Linked DNA regions of Homo sapiens: regions 1 and 3 are each linked to region 2. Evidence: promoter capture Hi-C in human tissues and cell types (Jung and others, 2019). All regions are on one chromosome and are shown on one strand. Each heading gives the region's core, a stretch centred on a gene start or on the middle of the fragment in contact. The rest is flanking DNA. Distances are from core to core; before and after follow the strand shown.

Region 1 (4,544 bases), core at 824-3,323, 230 kb after region 2:
ACATTTTTTTAATTACACACATTTTTAGCTTCTTAAACTTAGATTTTTTCAAGTGGACTAAAGTTTATTAGCATATTCTTTTTCAGGGATCAAATGTTCTGTTTTCTAAGTAGCAACAGTGACAATAAAAGGAGTATGCTGAGATTTTGGAAATGTCAACACTCCTTCTGGATTCTGAACCAGGAGCCAGAGATAAATGAGCAACTCTATAATGTTAGACTGGTGAGCACAATGCAAACTGGGGGGTTAAAATGTGCCTCTGTTGCTTCCAGTCTCAAATCCAGGCCTAGAAGCCTATAGACTTTCAGAGCTTAACTATAGCCCTACTGACCACACAGGAAACCCCAGCCTGCCTCTGTAGAGCAAGGAGCAGAACAGAATGAGGGAGGCCTAGGGAGAGGAAGATCTTGAGAAGCCAGATGGGGTCTGGGCCTTGCAAGCAAGGTCTGGGGCCGTTTTTTTACTCTCACCAGTGGGTATGTTTTCTTCTCCTCCTCTTCTTCCTCCTCCTCCTATAGGAAGAGGCTAGTGGACAAAGAGAGAAAGGACTGAGGGAGGAACTTAGGAAAAGGAAGAAAACATTTGCTCTCTACAAATAAGATGAAACTTAAAATCCGGGTCTAGGAATAAGTAGGAATAGTTTATCTTTGTTACTTTCTCTGTGGCTAACAATTTAGAAGCAGAAGAATACAAAGAAGCTCTCCAAAGAACTGAACTTTTCTGAAACACAGTTTCCTTATCTATACAATTGGGGTGGAGGGTGGTTAAAGTAATATTAGCTCAAAACCAAACAAATCAATTGAGAGAATACATGCATACCCACTATTCAAACAAATCAGTACTTAAATAAATATTCAACTTTTTTTTTTTTTTTTTGAGACAGAGTATTGCTCTGTCACCCAGGCTGGAGTGCAATGGCGCAATCTCGGATCACTGCAACCTCCCCCTCCCAGGTTCAAGCAGTTCTCATGCCTCAGCCTCCCGAGTAGCTAGGACTACAGGCACACACCACCACGCCCAGCTAATGTTTCTTGTATTTTTAGTAGAGATAGGGTTTCGCCATGTTGGTCAGGCTGGTATCGAACTCCTGGCCTCAGGTGATCCGCCTGCCTCAGCTTCCCAAAGTGCTGGGATTACAGGTGTGAGCCACCACCCCTGGCCTTAATATTCAATTATTTCTTATTGATTACAACTTTGTTTGAAGGTGGCAAGAGGTACAATGTTGCCACCAACAGTAAAGAATGCACCATATTCAATTTCTCAAAATTTTCACTAAAGTTTCTAGGGATGAGTAGTTCTTAAAAATATTCCCAAATGTCTCCGTATCTCTTTCTTTCCCTTTCTTTCTGTTTTTCTGTGGGGAGATGGATTGTCTAGAGAGCCTGCTTTTTTGTATTAAATGATGGGTAGAATTTTAAAACTCCCTTGGGAGTAGATTCTTTGTGTCATCTATGTGAAAAGACTTTTTGCTCTGTTCACAAAATCCCCAAATAAAACCTGATTCATCATAATTCAGCCCTAACATCAGATTTAGAAATGCGTGAAGTAATCTATGTACTTGCAATTTAGGACTTAATAAATTACTAATAGAACTCTGAATTGAGGGCTTTTTACAATCCAACTAATTTGTTACACCTAGATATCACTACAAAGATTGCATATATTTTATAAAGTAAACACCAGTTTGAGGTTCTCGGGTAATTATTTTAATAAGTGCCATGGTTTCCACACACACACACAGATAAAATTAGCTGCTCATCATTATTTTAGACTTATCTTTTTGTGGTTTTAAAAAATGTGTGGTATTCTTTAAAATATAACCATATGACTTTAATGCACTACCAGTTTATTACAACTTTTTCACAATTTCCTTAGTGTATTTTAATTGCATCTAAGACACCCTGCCACACCGCCTTTTTTTCTTCCCTTATTTTTTTATTTTCTCCTCATTTTTCAGAATCTTAGACTATACATTTTCCTCAAACACATTTTGGCAAGAGTGTGTTAAATATTTTAAATAATAGAAAAAAATAGTGAGCCTATGAAGATATCAAAAGTCAGTGTAGGCCTGGGATAAAGTTGGGATGCATTTTCCCCAGTTTGCCTCAAATACATACTCTCTTTTGATTTTTATTTCCATAGAAATCAATGAGTCTATTTATAAACGTCCATATAGTGCGTCCATCCTCCAGAAGAAAAAATGTTCATTTTTTCAATTTTTTTTTTCCTTTTTTTTTTGAGACAGCGTCCCACTTTGTCACCCAGGCTGGAGTGCAGTGGTGCAGTATTGGCTCAATGCAGCCTCAACATCCCAGATTCAAGCGATCTTCCTGCCTCATCCCCTCAAGTAGCTGGAACTACAGGCATGCACCACCATGCCCAGCTAATTTTTATATATTTAGTAGAGACGGTTTCGAACTCACGAGCTCAAGCAATCTGCTCTCCTTGGCCTCCCAAAGTGCTAGGATTACAGGTATGAGCCATGGTACCTGGCTGGCTCATTTTTCAGTTTTAATTATTGATCTTAGAGCCCATTTCATGATTGATTCACCTGCTGTATATCTGCATAGATTAAGTAGAATTTCTGCCAGCAAAATATTTGTTTACTGGTTTACTGTGTAAAACAGAGGTTTGATATAGTCTAAAGCTGTGTTGGTTGGGAAATTCTGCTTTTGTGTCTACTCAGAAAATCTTTCTACCTCAATTACCAATATAATTGAATTTCAGCATGTATAGCACCAATTAGTGCATTCAATATGGTCATACTGCTTTGTTCCATCTCTTCCTTCTAGTCCCCTTCCATCTCCATATCGGAGAGAGGCATATGTTTCCAGATTCTTGTTGTGTATCACAGCTGTGTTAAAAGGCCCAAGCAAATAACTAGTTTGGATATTTTGGCTCCACAGTTTTTCTTTTGGTATCATTGTTATGCTCCTAACACAATTTGGGCAATAGCTCTGCCAAATTCCTTGTGGGGGTGGTAGGGGGGACGGCCTCTTTGTTTGTTTGTTTTAATGGATTAAAAAAACCTCTTAGTAAAATTAAGTCTAACTCTCGAACATGTTTGTGAAAAGATTGTTTATAGATGTTAAAGGATCTAGTGTACTGAAGTCATCTAGCAAATATTACAGCAGAGCAGCAGGTATGCTTATGTAATTTAAATTCAATTATACATATGTAGGAGACAGAGAGAAAAAGACATCATTTGATTTTGTCCTCTGTCCTCGGGATGAATTTATGGCTGTGAGTGAACATGAAATGAACAACGTGAATCTGTTGTTTCCCAAGTTATCTAACTTCTGCCTAAGTGAGAGTATCTTGCTACGGTGAGTGTGATCTTCATTTATAAATATGCAGTACATATTTTTTTTTTACAGCATGGTCCTTAAGTGCCTTCCATGCAAGCCAGCTATCACCTGGTGCTTAACGAAAGAAACAGAGCTTTATTCTAAGGCTGGAGGAACAATTGTATTGAACTTATTGAAAGCCAGTACCATACTGTATTTGAAGGTCATTTTCAAGGGCATTATTTTTTCTATTTTAATTAAACTTAATTTTGTTTGTAAATACAGTGTTGCATTCTGTCTCCCAGGCTGGACTACAGTTGGCACTATCATGGCTCAGTGCAGACTGCACCTCCTGGGCTCAAGCAATCCTCCTGCCTCAGGCTCCTAAGTAGCTGGGACTAGAAGTGCACCACCACACCGAGACAATTTTTGTGAATGTGTGTGTAGAGATGAGATCTTGCTTTGTTGCCCAGGCTGGTCTCAAATTTCTGACCTCAAGTGATTCTCCTACCTCAGCTTCCCAAAATTCTGGGATTACACCACACTCAATCCTTTATTTTTATTTTAAGCACTGAGATTAAAGTTTATTCCATGTGAGATGCTACTATGCTGTAAAGCCATCAATTAGCAGTCTAAACCATAATTTATCTTAGTATAATCTATAGTTTTGTGATGGTGCTGGGAAAACTGGCTAGCGATATGCAGAAAACTGAAACTGGACCCCTTCCTTACACCTTATACAAAAATTAATTCAAGATGGATTAAAGACTTAAATGTTAGACCTAAAACCATAAAAACCCTAGAAGAAAACCTAGGCAATACCATTCAGGACATAGGCATGGGCAAAGACTTCATGACTAAAACATCAAAACCAATGGCAACAAAAGCCAAAATTGACAAATGGGATCCAATTAACTAAAGAGTTTCTGCACAGCAAACGAAACTATCAGCAGAGTGAACAGGCAACCTACAGAATGGGAGAAAATTTTTTGCAACCTATGCATCTGACAAAGGGCTAAAATCCAGAATCTACAAAGAATTTAAACAAATTTACAAGAAAAAAAATCAAACAACCCCATCAAAAAGTTGGCAAAGGATATGAACAGGCACTTCTCAAAAGAAGACATTTATGCAGCCAACAAACAGAAAAAAAGCTGATCATCACTGGTCACTAGGGAAATGCAAATCAAAACCACAATGAGATACCATCTCACGCCAGTTAGAATGGTGATCATTAAAAAGTCAGGAAACAACAGA
Region 2 (4,469 bases), core at 1,567-4,066:
ATTCAAAAGACATTCATTTCTGTAGAACTGTGCTTAAATTTATTGCCTGTGTCATTATATTGGAAATACTGAAGTGTACCAACATGCTAAATGAATGAATCATTCATCAAACCCCAAGTGGTTGTTGATGGAATTTTCACACTTACTTAGCTTGACGGAAAGGCCAGAATACCTGGAGTCCCCATGATTCTTGGAGAGCTGTGTAATTCAAATCAAACCCCATTTTAAAATATTACTATAAATTTTTTTTATATGTGGGGTAGTAGGAGAGTACAGAACAAGTTGCTTTATAATAGAACCATGGTATTGATGCCATGTTTATAAATGACTATTTAAACTACTAAATATTAATAGATATTCTTCCCTGGTGAGGATAACATTAGAATCAGAACAATCGATCCTATTTCTTAATGTCCAATTTACATAGGCTACCTTCCATCCATGCAGCATTGCACAGAAAATGTCTTTGTAATTTTTGGATTAGAAAATTTAACAATATGAAAGATCTAATCCCCTCCTCCATTTCTGCAGATTATTTTATTGATTTTGGGCTATTTCCAGTGTCCCCTTTTTCAGTGACTGTGGAATCGCTAGAAGTATTCTTAAAAAAAACCTTGAAGGTCATTAGATCCTAGGCAATGAATGCCTTCATTCAACAAGGGTACTGCCCTCCTTTGCCTACAAGCCGTTTAACATCAGCAAGTTCCCCCAAAGGGCCTGCACTTTAACTTGTGTGATGTGTGACCGAACAGGTCACATATCTAAAATACTTAGCTTTCTCAAATTTCTCTGGTCGGCAGCACTGAGTCACTAATGCCACAGTCACAATGTTTCAGACTAGATTGACCTCTTTCTAGTTTTCAATGGAATTATTCCATGTAATCCGATTTACACAGCCATTTAATCAAAGCGAGAAAGGAGATTACAGAGCTCACATTTGTTTTGCAAAGCAAGGGTGCAAGGATAATCAATCCTACTGCCTCTCAAAGTGACTTGATAGTACATCCCCTGGCTTTGGAGTGTTGGACATTAACCTTATCTGTCTCCTGTGTTCTTGTTTAAATAGGAAGGTTTAGGCTCTTTTCCTGAACTAGAAGGTAGCAGCTTCTTCCCCCAGATCTCACCACCATCCATGGGAGCAGATGCTACTATAAGAAGGAATAGGTCTCTACCCTTCTTATAATTTCGCAGAAAGCTTGTCTAAATCAAGAGATTACAATAAAACTTTTCTTTTGTTGCAAGAATCTTTAACATTTGCATTTCGACAGCACGCTGTGGTGATTCCAGGTGCGGTGCTCAATGCCTTGCCTGAAAGCTAACCTGCTTGTAAGAGAGGGGAGAGGCACATCGCGTCTTTTCTCTTAGAGAGTGCTCTAGAGACTATGCAAGCCTCTTTTAGCCAGGCAATGTCCCTTTCCCCTGCCTTTTACCACACCGGTACAAGGGGCTAGAGTCTTGCAACTTTTTGCAGGCCTAGATATCTGTTTAAAATATGATGCTAAGCAGGTCATTTGATAAAGCATTTTGAGCACATTGATGCCTTCATTCTACACCAACGATGTGTACAAACACCCCGGTTTCCTTTTTCCCCACCACTTCCACCCCTTCCACACATTTCAGGAACTGCAATCTCCAACAGAACCTCTGGGGGGTGAAAGGGCAACCCTTAGCCAACCGCGGCAGATAACACATAACAATTTCTAAGGGGGAAAGTGAGAGGAGGTAACAATCAACAATGGTGAAGAGAACTGTGGATAGGGGCACCGTGGCGGCCCTTTCTAAACGAAGAACCAGGTATTTTCTTCAAGGGAAAAAAAAATCTAATTGTCCCCCCAGGCAGCGCTTTACCCACAGTGCTTTATGTATAATGCAGAATTTAGCAGCACTGGGAATTATCTCAATCACTATCATTCAGAGGTGCCTATTTTATAAAAAGCCTTTATCCCTTTTGAAATGGAAAAAGGTGCGTGCATTGTGGAGGTACTAGAGCTCTTTAGAGCCCACACAGAGCTGCAAACTAGGCAGACACCGCCGAGAGCCAAGTTTCCCGGGCAGGCGGGCAGGTTCCCGCCCCGCCGAGAGCTGCCGCTTAGGAGTTCCGCGTTGGCTTCGCTCCCGCGGCTGCACCCGCGTTCGCGCCGCTCCTGGTGCCCGGCGCCCACCTCGGGGCTACACAAATAAATCTGAGTGAGAGAGCTAGTGAGGGTGGCGCGTGGGGTGCTGTTTCATAATCTCCTGGAATCCACGGGAAAACCGTCTCCTATGCAAAGACATGCCTTCCCGTGATAACTTAACATTCCATGGCCCAAAAGCCAATCTTTCCACCAGACGGGAATTACGGTTTCCGACTGACAGCTCAAAACTTAACTGCTGAGGCTCCAAACTTGACACTGGCTCCCTCTCAGCACTCCCACTCCTTTTCTCCCTGGCTCACCCGGCTCGGCTCGGGATCACACACCACGCCGGCCTCCCCCGCATCCTCTTGTCTCACCCGGCAGGCACAGCCCTGCACGCCCCAGCTGCAAGTCCCAGGGAGCGCCGGCTTCCCCGGGGCACCGGGCGCGATTTTTCCTGGAGAGCCTGGGAGCTCCCGGGCGCGCCCTACTCACTTGTGTCTTCTTCATAAGGAAAGGCAGCGCTGCGATCCAGCACAAACAGTGGTGTGGCGACTCCGTTTAGCTGTTCTGGAGCTCCAGCATATTGCACGAACAGCGGCGGCAGATAGTCCACGCATTGGGTAGCCCGAGCGCAGCGCCCTCTCCACTGTCCCTGCTTCCCGCAGCGCTTCTAGTCTCGGCGCGAGGCGGCGAGCGAAGCCCGGCTGCTGAGCCGCCGGCGCTTTTATACAGTTCCCGCCCGCCTGCTCCGGACACGCCTCCTTCCCTTCCGGAGCCCGGGGTAGGCGAGAAGCAGGCAAGGGCGCGGAGGGAAGAATCGGGAGGGCGGCCAGAGCACGGTAAATGCCCCAGAAGTTTGGCAGATTAGGCCAACCTTGTCCGCTCGCCTGGGGGCCCCGGACCTGCACTGGCGGGAGACCGCGAAGGCGCGGGGACGCAGAGGGCGAAGCTTGGTACCCTGCAGCTACTGCTCGCGAGGAGTCCCAGCTTACCCTCCCGGATCCGCTGGGGCTCACCTGGCACCCCCGGGGACAGACGAAATACCTCGCGCGCCAGAGAGGGCTCGGAGCTCCCTCTGTTATACAAAGTCGGAGAGGGAGAGGAGTCCGGGAGGTTCGGAGCAAAGAATTCACCCTGCCTGCCTTAGAGAAATAAAGTTTAATTGCGATCTGTAGTTAGGCCATTGTCCTATCACCTCTATTTTTTAAAAAAAACAATTACTTTAGTGAATGAATATTTAATAATTACAAGAATTGTTGACTCAAGGTTAAGTATTGCAAGGGGAGACGCTTCATTTGGAATGGTTTGTTACTGTGTCTTTAGAAATTAAGATTGAAAGAGAAGCGATAGATTATTAAACTACAGGTCGCCAACACAGCAAGGCTTTGAAAGTTGTACTTTTTTGAACGGAAAGATAATGCAACCACAATAATAATAGCTAACATCATTATGTGATGCACTTATTCATGTGCCAGGTGCCAGACTAAGAACTTCGCATAGATTATCTCATTAAATTCTTTCATCAAATCTATTAGTGTAGATCTTATTATTTTATTCCCATTTTATGGACGATGAAATACAAGGTTAATTTTCTTGACCAACCATATCTAGTAAATGGCAGAGCTCTAATTTAAACCTGGAGCTCCAGCTGTACAGTCTTAAAAAATACTTCAAATATTTTATTGATTCTCCAGAATGTGTCTGTTTTTGTTTGTATAACTGGAGAACATTCCAAAGCATTTCATTAATTTTTTAAAAGAAAATATTAGCTGAACATTAACATCAGTGATCTTTAAAAGAAAGAATAATGTATGAGTTTAGGAATTAGTTATTTTAATAATAGAGTAGGAGTCCAAATTTGCTTTAATTAGTTCCGGTGCGTTTGTTAAACATGAATATGCCAAACCTGTAATCAGGGCGAAGCTTGTTTATTTCACTCCAGATGTGCTGACTTCTGTGATTTCCCCAAATGTGGGAAACTCGACTGCATAATTTAGTGGGGGACTGCGTTCTCACTTTCTCATGTTAGAAAAAATATGTATAGACAGCACATCAATCATGATTCCAAGTTGATAGTTGCTTAGAAAGATTTTTATACATTAGGTACTCTTAGTACAAATATATCGAACATCAAATATCAAAATGAGCTTAATTTGGATACTGGAGGCATAGCAAATGATTGTTTTTTTTTTCTTCAAGATTTATTTTTATTTTTTATTTTTTAGATGGAATCTCGCTCTGTCTCCCAGGCTGAAGTGCAATGACGCAATCTCGGCTCAATGCAGCCTCCGCCTCCCAGGTTTAAGCGATTATCCCGCCTCAGTCTCACAAGTAGCTGGGATTACAGGTGCC
Region 3 (4,404 bases), core at 1,137-3,636, 200 kb after region 2:
GCTTTACCCATGAAAGGCTTGGTTCAAAGCAGCTTTCTAACAAATACTGAATGAATATTGTATTAAAAAGAAAAGAGAGAATATGAAAGAATTAGCAGGCTGTCTTTATCTGGTGAAATTCCAAGCAGTATACTATTAATGTCATGGTTGTGAGTAAATAATTTTAGGGTATAATAGATAAGTAATTAACAGTAGTAATAATTATTGCTCAGAATGATGCTATGTATGAAGCTGGCATTTTTAACTTCTTTTAAGATATGTGGGGTATCTGCAATGATCGTTGATGCTTAAGCTTTGCATTTTTATAGCCATACATATATGACTGTATAATTGTAAGAAATAATTTTATAATTACATACTATTAGGATCTAATTATGAAAACCAATGCCTTCACTCAGGAGTATATTTTGTGAGAAATTTTTTCCATCAATGAAAAAGAAGAGGTATTCCATTGACTTTGTGTATAATCAAGATATTTATTTTTTAAATATAATTAAATTGATGGTATTAATTTGCTTTGTTAAATCTGGTTTAGGGCAGGAGAATGCTGGGACTCGGTCTCCTTGTAAGACAATTGTAATGAAAGGCTGGCTTTATGTGCAGGGAGGTTACGTTCTCTTTAAACACTTCTAGGCCCCAGACCTGGAGACTCCAGCTCCTAGAGTGCCTAGTCCACTGCTAAAACCAGGAAGAAGGAGTATAGATAGAGGAAAAAAAGCTTACTTTATTTTTCTCCTGTTCAGAGGTAAATAGGGAAAAGAAAATGGAAGTCAGAAGTAGAAAATCAAGGCTTCCTTTCTTTCTTGAATAGAAATTTTTAAAAAAGGCAGGTCCTAGAATTTGAGGGAAACAGCAAGGTGGAGTGCCTTTCACTGTAACCTACGTAGGTATACTAGAACAGAGCCAACTTGTGATGGCCTCACAGTGACATGGGATGGTGGCCCCCACTTTCCTGAGGTTTAAAACTTCTGACCCACCATGTATGACCATGTATCACAAGTTCCATGGATCACAGACACTGAATCAAGGACCAAGGTGACCAGGCAAGAAAGGCTGATGGTAAACAGCCAGGCCAGTGAACCAAATGGAGAGCCCAGCAGACTCAATTTCCAGCATTGGCCGTGTGTCTTCACAGGGCCAAGAGGACCACGGAAGGAGACAAAGGAAGAGGCAGAGAATATCACACCCAAGGACTGCTATTTTATACCACCTATAAACCCCTCACCTCCCATCTCCTCTTTTAAGAGGACATTAGCTAATGAAGTATATCAGGTAACCAATCAAGAGACAGAACACCCATTCAGTGCACTGTTTACATTTTTAAATCACATTAAGTACACCAGTTTGAATCCTTAATCCCCCTCCCTGAATTAATCAACAAGAGGGCTTCAGGAGGAATATTATTCATGGCCTCTGAAGATCTATATTGTAGTGGGAATTACATTTGCATTACATTTGAATTAAATTCACCATCCCCTCCACCCTAAACATGCAGGTTTATGTAAGGCATTACATTCGAGCTTAAAGATAGAAACATATAAAAGCACAGGGAACAACACCAGATTTACATTTTACCAGGAATAATCCTGGTCAGAAAATTTTTGTATATGAATCCATTATGCATAAGAAAGCAAACTCTGTGGCCATCTGAGAATGATTCTGCTGAATTGGGTAGACTTTGAAGACTGAGAACAGTAATAATACCTCACATCTTGGAATGTATTTGTTTCACTTAGTAGGGAGAGAATACCATTACTTTAGGTTTTACAGGGTAGATACTTGTGAAATGAAAATAGATGCTTGATTTTTTTTTTGGTCTTCTTTTGGTTTTTAGAAGTGGTCAAGGGCAAATTAAGCAGGAGTGGAATAAGAAGAGATTTTGCACCTGTGATCCCAGCTACTGGGTAGGCTGAGGTGGGAAGATTGATTGAGTCCAGGAAGTGGAGGTCGCAGTGAACTGAAATTACCCCACTGCACTTCAGCCTGGGCAACAGAGCCACACCCTGTCTCAAAAAAAAAAGAAGAGATTTTGATGGGAAAGACACATCTCTCATCATATATTCAAAAATACCCTTATGTGAATGATATATGACACCCCATTCTGTATCCTCAAGGAATTAACAATCTAGTTTAAGGAGAAATTGTTTAAGAAAACAAACCTGAAATCATGGTAGCAAAAGAAAACATGAACTCAAAAGCTTAGTGGTTTGTCAAGGATTCAATGTAAGATTATTAAGAAGTTCAAAGAAGAGTTCAGTATCAGGGAAGGCTCTAAAGATTATACAGTAACTTGATTAGGAAAAAAAATAAAAGGGCATGATGTAGATGTGGATAATCAGTACTTGCAAAAGCAAAAATAAATAAATAAAAAGGAAGGAAGGAAGGAAGAGTATTTATGGAAAATCCTGAAAATCCAGCGCTGTAGTTGGGAACAGTAGAAAATAAGAACAGGTAGGTACATGTAGATCAAGCTGGTCCTAAAGAGCCAGAAAGAAAAGTTTATTTATTTATTTATTTACTTTTTTTGAGACAGGGTCTCATTCTGTTGCCCAGGCTGGAGTGCAGTAGTGCAATCCTGGCTCACCACAGCTTTGACCTCCAGGGCTCAAGCAATCCTCCCGCCTCAGCCTCTCAAGTAGCTGGGACTACAAGTACGCACCACCATACCTGGCTAATTAAAAAAATTTTTTTTGTAAAGACAAGATCTCACTATACTGCCCAAGCTAGTCTTAAACTTTTGGGCTCAAGCAGTCCCCCCACCTTGGCCTCCCAACGTGCTGGGATTACAGGTGTGAGCCACTGTGCTCAGCTGAAAATTTCATTCTTTTGGGGAGAAACATTGAAGACTCATTGTAGGTTCTTGAACAAGAGAGTAACACTCAAAATAGAGTTTTAGGTACATTTGCCTGTGTCAGGATGGAATGAAGGGAGAGGGGCAGGTGACTAGCAAGAAAGTACAGAGGGTGCAGTTGAACTCAGTGTGGGGATTGATACAGAAGCAATGAGAGAAAAAGGAGAAAAATTAAGATAATTAAAATAAGGAATTGACAGAACACAATGACAGAAAAATTGAATAGTGTAACTGTTAGCCCTGTTTCCCTAGAATCATCCAATTTATATCTGTTGTCCCAGAAGAATTATTGATAACACTCCTTTCACTTGGATGATAAATTATTTAGTCATCTTATGTGTATTGGAGAATAGTTTCAGCTCAGGCAGCTGTGATAATGGAACTGCCTTGAAGTGCCTCCAACAAATATAGGGAAGACAGGCATTCAGAATGAAGCAGAATTTCATTGTAGACCTGATTAGAGGGAAGAGTAGCAGGGTTTCAGTGTAAGTGCCCAACAGACGGTTGAGATAAAAGACAAACAGATGCACATTCCAGAAACTTTGATTTTGCAGTCATCTGCATCTTTTGTAAAAGCCAGTTTGTACCAAGCTCTGCATTTTGATTCTGAATATGAGGCAATGAATCAAACAAGGGCATTGATGACATCCAGCACACTCTACCAAAGTCAATATACCATCAGAGACCCGGAGAGGAAGTGGAAGACTACCATTCAGGGGAAATTTTCAATAAAGGTCCAACTGGAGGAGTCCGAAGCTTTCTTCAGCCTAACATTCCAGCCCATTTTCCACCATTCTCCCTCATAAATGTTTGACTATGTCCAGATTAATATAGTCACTGCCTGGTATTAATGGTGGATTCCCCCTTCTCCTTGCCCTCAAGTCTTACTGTAACCTCCCTCTACGTCTCCCTCTCCCCTTCTGAAAACCTATCCCTTGCTTCTCCCTCTGCCCATTTCCTCCTGCTACTTTAATGCCACTTAATTTCTCATTTCCCCATGAAGCCTTCTTGACCACAACAACACACATGCACTCTGTAGCCTATGACCTCATAGCATTTAATGTCTTTACTACTAATTAGATTTTAATTTAATCATACATTTGCACCATGACATCCATTTTCTGTGGTTTTATATGTTCTATAACTCCTTATTCAACCACTCGATTATTTAACTGTTAATGCACATATCTAATCTCCTCAAGGTTATATGCCCTTTGAAGGGGGGCTGCTATTTTTCTCTGTATCATATAACTCTTGACTTGGTGCTAGTCCTTATTTCTCAAAAACAAAACAAAATATTTTAATGCTTTTTATGTTGATGAGTGAATTCAAATCCTATTACTAATGCATTTTCAGAGTATTTAACGTTTACTATGAACTATGTCAATTGTATCCTTTTTCATACTAATAAGAATCACAACAATATCAAGAAGTTCTGGTGTTTGGAGACATTTGATACAACATATAAATTCCTTCACTTGTTTGGAAGACCTTTTTTTAACTGGAAATATAATATTAGTACTTTTTATATTAAACATCATACTTCTTGCTTA

What was found. The method cuts DNA at HindIII sites, captures the fragments that hold promoters and counts their contacts. A contact is called where the count stands out against the background at its distance.
Region 1: a fragment that was not itself captured here is called in contact with the fragment with the promoter of KITLG in region 2 in 1 of the 25 tissues and cell types used here (H1 embryonic stem cells).
Region 3: a fragment that was not itself captured here is called in contact with the fragment with the promoter of KITLG in region 2 in 2 of the 25 tissues and cell types used here (H1 embryonic stem cells and heart right ventricle).

What each region holds. Positions count from the first base shown.
Region 1 is chr12:88,805,563-88,810,106 of GRCh38, forward strand. No RefSeq gene overlaps it. Among named protein-coding and RNA genes, the nearest start is that of LINC02458, 210 kb to the right of the region's middle. The HindIII fragment of the contact is 9,769 bases long and covers 1-4,544 here.
Region 2 is chr12:88,577,655-88,582,123 of GRCh38, forward strand. KITLG (KIT ligand) reads right to left here and starts at 2,817. Exons shown (of 10, transcript NM_000899.5): 1 at 2,610-2,817. The coding sequence starts at 2,624. It overlaps LOC105369885 (a long non-coding RNA gene), which reads left to right and starts at 2,882. Exons shown (of 4, transcript NR_188177.1): 1 at 2,882-2,956; 2 at 4,343-4,469. It also overlaps the pseudogene RNU1-117P. The HindIII fragment of the contact is 2,929 bases long and covers 2,131-4,469 here.
Region 3 is chr12:88,776,801-88,781,204 of GRCh38, forward strand. No RefSeq gene overlaps it. Among named protein-coding and RNA genes, the nearest start is that of KITLG, 200 kb to the left of the region's middle. The HindIII fragment of the contact is 3,763 bases long and covers 506-4,268 here.